Regions from separate parts of the Homo sapiens genome. Here region 1 is linked to region 2. The links are contacts of gene promoters, found by promoter capture Hi-C in blood cells and fetal thymus (Javierre and others, 2016). All regions are on one chromosome and are shown on one strand. The core of a region is centred on a gene start or on the middle of the fragment in contact, and the rest is flanking DNA. Distances in the headings are between cores, read along the strand shown.

Region 1 (3,933 bases), core at 1,321-3,820, 520 kb after region 2:
GCTCAGGCAATCTGCCTGCCTCTGCCTCCCAAAGTGCTAGGACTACAGGTGTGAGCCACCACGCTTGGCCTTGAAATGATTTTCTAATGAGTCTTCAGGGCGGCTGATATGGTTTGGCTGTGTCCCCACCCAAATTATTTTAGCTCCCATAATTCCCATGTGTTGTGGGAGGGACCCAGTGGGAGATAATTGAATCATGGAGGCAGTTTCCCTCATACTGTTCTCATGAGAGTGAGTAAGTCTCAAGAGATTTGAGGGTCTTATGAGGGGTTACCCTTTTGCTGGGCTCTCTCTCTCCTCTTGTCTACCACCATGTTGAGACATGCCTTTCGTCTTACACTGTGATTGTGAAGCCTCCCCAGCCACGTGGAACTGTGAGTACATTAAACCACTTTCTTTCGTTAATTGCACAGTCTCAGTTATGTTTTTATCAGCAGCATGAAAACAGACTAATACGACTGCAATACTGTTGTGTTGTTAGGTTTTGTTCTAGTCTGTTTGGGAAGTGCGGTGGTAGAAATAGGAAAAGCATAGAGAAAGAATAACAAGAATATATAGTCCAGGAAAGCTTTTACCGGGAGAGCCTTTTATACCATGTTCCTGGAATATAGGGTTTCCAACAACTCAATTAATGTACAGACTCACTACGCTTTTTAAAATGTCTTTTATTGGTTGTACATTTTCTTATGAGATCAACACACCATTTTCTTTCAAGAACACTTTGCTCCTGAATACTTAATGTTACTTGTCCCAGCTATGAAAGCCATAGCAAGCACTTTGACGGAAAAAGGTGGTTGGGTGTTTTTTTTGCCATTATCACTGTCTTCTCTATCGTTAAACTGTTGTTTGAGTCAGTTTGTAGATTGACACAACATTGAACACAACACACACGGTGTGAAGTTTTACACGCATATACACACATCTGGAGACCAGTTACAGTGTCTGCAGCTTGTTCCTTTCTCCTCAGCAGTATGAAACTGAAGAATATCCTGAGATAGGAAGTCAACGTGAAAGTTCCTCATTAAAAGAGGAGGTCAAGCTTGATTTAATCTCCCAATTTCATTTTCTTTTTGAGGTGGTCAGAGGGGACCCAGAACGGTAGCCAGATGAACCGTGGAACAACCACATGGTTTAATATCTCAGCTGTTTCCTTGGTCAAAAACACAGATTCACAGAAATATTTCATGGCACATCAGAAACCTACTTTTTAAAAATATGATCTTGGATTAGAAAGGAGGGAAATGAAAAGGTTGTTTTTTACTAGATGTGATGGGAAATCCCACCACAGAATGACCTACATACTTGTAAGGCAAAATTACCCTCACCTTTGGCAATTATTATACTTCCTTGTCTACTGACTGATAGAAGTCAATCATCCAGTCTTGTCCCCCATCAATGTTATTTGCATGAAAAGATGAATTTCTCAAGAATAGGGACCCAGGACAGGTGGCTTCTCCAAATGTTAAAAAGAAACATAATTTCTTTAAAGCTACATTATCCCTCAATTCAGTATATTTCTGGGAACACTAACAAAACTTAACCTATGTTAACACCAATGCTTATATCTACTGCAAGTCCTGCATACTGGCTATTTCCTTGGCTTTGGGATTTGGAGATAACATCATTAATAATGATAAACAATAGTTCAAATGAAAAAAAAAATGCACACAACCTGGGTGACAGGAAAGCTAGCCTAAAATGAAAATGTTTGGAGCCACCAAAGCCAACAGGCAAAGAAAACAAAGGCATGCTGTCCCACAAAACAGGTATTTTAAATACAATCCTGAGGCCTTATTGAAGTTATCACTTGATGCTCATATATTTCCATATAGAAAAACACAGTTAGATATACACCCCCAACTCCTTCTTTCCTTCTTCAGCTCACAAGCAAAGAGTTCCCAAAGGCCAGAATTTAAATTTAATATTCACCTCAAGAGCATGGAAACATTCCACCCACATGCTTTACAGGTCTTTACTTTATAAACTTCTAATGAGTTTCATGCTCTACAGTTCAGCCTGCCTCATTCACAAAGAGACAATGCGGCAATCCGTAAAGAAGAGATGATTCCAACCAGAAAAAGCTGCACCTGGCAGGAAAGATGGGAGCCTCAATGAGGGAATCCACTGAATAGCATTCATTCTTTTATTTTAAACTCTCCAGAGACACTACTTTGAAGTGCTGGAGGTGGGTTTTGAAAGACAGGGGTGCATAGGACCTCTCCGATATCCTTTCAGAATATTTCAGGTACCAAGAAGAGGTAGCAAGCTCCTAACTAGCTTATGGAACTACCTCATTCTAGCATCAGGGCATTTTCCACTTGCCCAAAGGCTCTCTTTGCAATAAACATGGTTTGAAAATAACTTTAGGGTGCAACAGGCAAACAATCAATCATATATACAAATAACATGTGTCTATCACAAAATTTACAGAAGGTAAGAAAACGTGTTGTTGTGTTTCCTTACAAAGTCCATATTAATAAACGGAAGCAGCATTTTCAGCTATGAAACTGAAGCACAAAGAAAGCTGAAGAAATCCACCTCTTTTATTAAAATTCTTGTAAAGTTCAATTCCATAAAGAAATTCTAGTGTCTCATCAAGATTTTCACAAAATATATAGAAAACTGTTCATGTATTTAAATAATGTGAAACTACATTCCTAACACCTCTTTCAGCTTTAAATGACTCAATTTGATGATTCAGTATCATAGGAAGTATGTCCTAGTTGTGTAAGCAAATTACACAAAAAAATACTTTTCCTCTAAAAATACCTATTATTCTATTAAAACATCATTTCAGTTCATATAGAAAATCAGTCCACTCAGAAAATAAATTTGAGACTAAAGAATAAATCAAACACAGAGGTAATACAGGAGATAAACACAATTTTCTTAATCAAACCTCCTCAAGTGGCTTTTATGCAGATTGGCCAAGAACACTATAAACTGCTGCCCAATGTAAATTTTTGGCACATATAGTTTTCTAAAACAGTTGCTGTGAAACCCCAGCTATTAAATTTGCTCTAGTGGCAAACAGAACACTGTCAGAATTCACCAGACTCTTTATGTGTGTGTACAAGGCACCTGATATGACTCAGCTGGTGTTTAAGCATTCCCTTGTGTGCAGTTCATGACAGATACACCACCATAGCTTCCAACTTCTAAAGGCTGTACCAGGTTTCCATTACCCTTCTCCACCTACAACACCTTTGCAAAAGGCAGCAAGGGGTAGCTCTGTTAGCTTGAGTCTCAGACCGTACCCCTGTCTGTGTCAACATTGTCCAAAGGATTTGCTTTTTTCTGATAGGTCAATGAACAAAAACGGTAACTCCTGCCTCTGCAAACCTAGAGATGCAAAAATTCCACTGCATATGAAGAGCCCAGTCACTCCACGCCTTGTCACTGAGACGGTGAACAAAGATCAGGTCATTCTCAACCACTTTAGGAAAATGTCGCATGTAAGGATCTATAATGCATGGCTGTCATACAACAATTCCTTGCATTTTTCTTTCAAAATGATTTATGCTCAATTAAAATTAAATGACCCTGTCTTCTGGCCACCTATCTCCCTATCTCTGTGAGCATACTCAGTACGGCAAAAGCCAGGGACTCACAGCCGTGGTTGGCTATAAAATTTCCCATATTTGAGACTGTTTAAAGTCCTAAAGTGGTCATTTAATCCAACGTTCCCAAGTTTTTAATGGCCACAGAGACTTCCAGTTAAAAGGAACAATACTAGAAGCCAGATATTCTGACTGGAGGTTGACAGAGGTTCAGATAGGCAGAGTTCACCTTCATCACACTCTTTTTCCCTTCTGTTCACAAGAGACCCTCAGGGGCACCACTGAATATGGTCTGAAAACCACAGCTGTACCTCGCTCTTATCTCCCCAAGTATTGAACATACAACAGGACAAACAACTTGAGATCAGAAAAA
Region 2 (4,051 bases), core at 1,385-3,884:
GCCCTTGGGCCTGAAAAATTTAACCAAGAACCAGCTATTTGAGTTTACTTTCATTTCCCATAGACATCTCAGAAGATGAGCCCTTATTACCATGGTTTCCAGCAAAGGGGCCATTTGGAGATGCCAAAGCTGATGGATGGACTCACTAAAATGCAAGAAAAAACAAACAAACAAAAAAAAAAAACACAGCCTAACCAGGAAAGAGGCATTTGGAGAAAGACTTCTAATTCTGTTTACTGTCCATGAAATCTACTTTTACTTAGATTTCTTAATTTCCTGTCTCTTGACAACATCTGGTTTGAGCTACAGAGGGCCTGGCTTCTGTGTTGAGATTTGTGTTTCCCTTACAAGTTTCATGTTGGTGAGCATATTGTTAGCCTCAGCACAGCCTTGATGTTCAGAAACCTTTTTATTTACTCCATTGGGTACACTGGAGGAGCCTAACTTCATTTGCTCTCATGCTTATGCTAATTCTGCTCATTCTCACATCTATATTTTGTTCACTTGTATCATCAGCCTGTCATCCGCAATACTCCTCACTGTCTCTCCACTTATCTAAATCTACGCTTCCCATGGTCTTTTCTAACATCTCAAAAACCTTCTCTGACACTTGTAGCTTGCAGAATCGTATCTGTCTTGGTAAATATTATGGCACATCTACAGGACCTCATGTATTCCCTGCTACTCCCACTCCTGCAATTTTGCTTCAGCCACACTGGCCTCTTTGCTGTTTTGTTAACTCGCCAGGCACACCTCAGCCTTAGGGCTGTTCCATCTGCCTGAACTGCTCTTCTCCAAGGATTCTACGTTGCTCACTTCCTTGCCACCTCCAGGTCTTTGGCTAAATATCACCCCCTTAGTGAAGACTTCTTTGACAGTTCCATTTATAAATGGAAAATGGTGGGAGGTAGCTTTGAAGATGGCTCCCAATGATCTTCTTATGCTGGAACTCAAGTTCTTGTATGAGGACAAGTGGTAGGTTTTACTAATTTAACAAAGAAAATACCTGTATTATTTCGGTGCCAAATATTTACTTTCAATGCCCTTTATATATTTTGCCTCAAACTATACTTTTTTTCCATTTCTAATTTTCAATTAATTTATATCCAGGTCTTAGCTTGTACTCACCACTAATCTATATAATAGAAGAAACATATATTTTTCAATATCCTTGAAGACTCTTGTTCTCTCTCATGCTGAAATTCTTGTTGAGAAAAATGCATTAAAATAGAATATTGAATTCCTCTCCCAAAGCAGTCTTTTCTTGCAGTTTCAAAGGTTGTCAGTCTTGTTGTATATGAGACTAATAATCTTAGATTTATCACAATTATCGTGTTCTAAAAATAAACAAGCAGGATTACATCTCTAAGTTACTCAGGCTCTCTTTCTCTTTCTCTCTCTTTTGATTTGAATTGAACTCTGGACCTTGTTCACTTTTAAATTCTTTTTGGCTGAATTTCAGGAATTCCTTAAATGTATTCTGCAAAACAGCTGTGGTTTGGGTACTTCATGTTCCTTTATTGGTTAAAATCTGACATAAAGAGTGGCTAGTCTACATTTCCCATACTAAAGTAACAAAGGTGCATTCATACATTTTTTTCTTCTTCAGGATCTGGCTCTTACTAGCCATAAGAGTAATATTTAGCAGAAATACTCCAATACTCTTTTTCTAAAGACCATTCAGTCCATGTAATACACATGATCAAAATTCATCTGGCTTATAGAAATGTTATTGTTTACTACCTAAATATACCAACAAGGAAAACTGTTCAATTATATATGTCAGAGAATTCGTGGCATCCAGAGAGCAAAGTTTTACAAGCTCACACTTTTCTGACTAAATACTCAAAACAAAATTTTAAGATTTTTAAATGATAAGAAAAAAAAAAAAGCTTTAGAGGGATTAAGGTGAAAACAAAAGGAGAAAATTCTTCACTTTCAATTTATGTTAAAATAAATCTAGAAAAAATAGATCTCTTATTTCCTTTCAATGATTATAGACAACTATAAAAAAAAGTTAACGTGTATTTTCTCTGAGCTTTTTAAGAGGGGGGTATAAAATACATATTTTTCAATATTTGCAATTATATGTTCATAAGTGCATACAGGATGCAAAAATCTGGTTTTGAAAGACATTGCAGAATACTCCATGTGGTATGAATATAATAAAGCCACTTTTAGACATTTACAAATATAATAGCAGGCAAGGGCTGTTTAACAGACTCTGTAAACACCAATGTGAGACTACTTTTAACCAAAGCTTCAAAATAACTTAAGGAATATGACACACTGTTTGATTCCTACTTAAAGCACTTGGATAAAAAATTAAATTATCTTAATTGCATTTAATTGATCATTAATATTTACGTTTGCTGGAAACAGAGTGTTGCTGCTCCCCAAACACAGATGCCAGCAAGAGCAAAACATAGGCTGAATGACATTGTATCCATAGCAATAATAGCACTTACCTTTATTCACTCTCCCCACAGAGAATCTATGAGCTAGGTGCTTTCAGCTGGGCAATGGTAGAGAATGCTCTTTAGTTAATAATAAAGGAAAGAAAAGCTCCAGACACCAAGAACCTGGGTTAACCATTGACACCGGTTTGTTCCTACAGTTCCTCCCTGGGAATCTACATAGGTAGCCCCTGGCGTCTTATCAAGCAAGCCATAGCCAGTCAGCTGTGGCAGTGATTACGTCACCACCTCTGTACCTCTGGAGGAGGTACAGTGTGAAGGTCACCCAAGTATATCCTGACTAAGTTTTTACTTGATCAGGGATACAAAGGAGGAAGATTTGCTGGGCCAGAACTATGCTCAACAATGCCTGTAAGTGACTCAAATATTTACAGACAGGATTGTTGAGAGACGACCTATGGAAATGCTCCTGCTAGTTTTCAGACTCTGTTGGAATAGTACAAATAAATCCCTTTCATCAGAACTCTTTGTCTACATCTTAACAGCTGAGGATTGGGATTGCATGCTGACGAAAAGCGAGACAGGATAATGACAGGTAGCTAAGCATCCATTCAGTCTTTTATTTACCAAACCTTTAATGATTATTTTTCCTGTGCTGCCTAGTTCCAAAGAACATGAGTTCACAGTTGATTAGCCCTCTGACTAATCAACATGGATGGCAGAAATTGGGGTTGGAAAGTCTTCCTTTCCTCAACCCCAGGAATCAGAGCTCGAGCCTGAGATGGTGAATACAATGCAGGCTGTGGTATAGGTTTTGCCTGGCATTGAGTCCTAATGGGTTAAATAAAATGGTGAGGTGATCCCGTGGTCAGTGCTCTCCAGGAGGTAGAAAAGTGAGTGATCAGGGAAGAGGTAGACTTATAATGCTAGAATCAAGAGAAAGATCCAGAAAATGTGAAAAGCAGCCATGGGGAACTAAACAAATAGCAACCCTAGGCTCTTCAGAACCTGGGGGAGTTGTGTCCAGGAATGCTCAATAGAAGTGTTATGCTAGCAAGGAATTAGTTTTTCCTTTGCTTCACAGAGCGGTGGCAGCCAGGGGATCTAGGGAACCACATCAGGCTTGGTTAACACTGCAAATTTAAGAGGCCTTTTCTAGGTTCTGACAATCGTTGCTGTTTGACGGTTGTTAGAGTTTTGTTTCCATTTTTAAAAGCATGAACACTTGAGGAAGTGGACTTCTATGTTGGCACCGCCACTTACTAGCTGTGTGACACTGAGAAACTGCTTAACCTTTCTGCAACTCCATTTTCTCAACTGTCAAATGGGGATGATAATAGCAACAACGACAACACCTACCACAGATAGATAATTCGTGTTCCAAACTCATAGCTGTCACTAAGGTATACATATTCTGATAGGAAGACCTATTTTGCAATCTGTTACACAATATCTGCAGAAGAGTTTGAACTCTCCAAGGGACCTATCTTTTCATTCATCCATAAATCTCAGGTAAGCAGTGAATGCAGAGGTTGCCTTTTCTGTTAAAAAAAAAAATTGAAGACTAAACAAATGCCTACATTTCCATAACAATTGCAGCAACTCTCATTGTGGTTTATCCATGATGTTGTTCA

The links. The method cuts DNA at HindIII sites, captures the fragments that hold promoters and counts their contacts. A CHiCAGO score of 5 or more calls a contact.
Region 1: a fragment that was not itself captured here is called in contact with the fragment with the promoter of KCNJ16 in region 2 in 1 of 17 cell types (M0 macrophages); the score reaches 5.4 in M0 macrophages.

What each region holds. Positions count from the first base shown.
Region 1 is chr17:69,550,578-69,554,510 of GRCh38, reverse strand. It overlaps MAP2K6 (mitogen-activated protein kinase kinase 6), which reads right to left. Exons shown (of 12, transcript NM_002758.4): 12 at 646-3,933. Among named protein-coding and RNA genes, the nearest start is that of LINC01483, 41 kb to the left of the region's middle. The HindIII fragment of the contact is 3,058 bases long and covers 1,042-3,933 here.
Region 2 is chr17:70,073,808-70,077,858 of GRCh38, reverse strand. KCNJ16 (potassium inwardly rectifying channel subfamily J member 16) reads right to left here and starts at 2,634. Exons shown (of 4, transcript NM_170741.4): 1 at 2,469-2,634. LOC105371881 (a long non-coding RNA gene) reads left to right here and starts at 3,052. Exons shown (of 3, transcript XR_934952.3): 1 at 3,052-4,051. The HindIII fragment of the contact is 12,238 bases long and covers 2,263-4,051 here.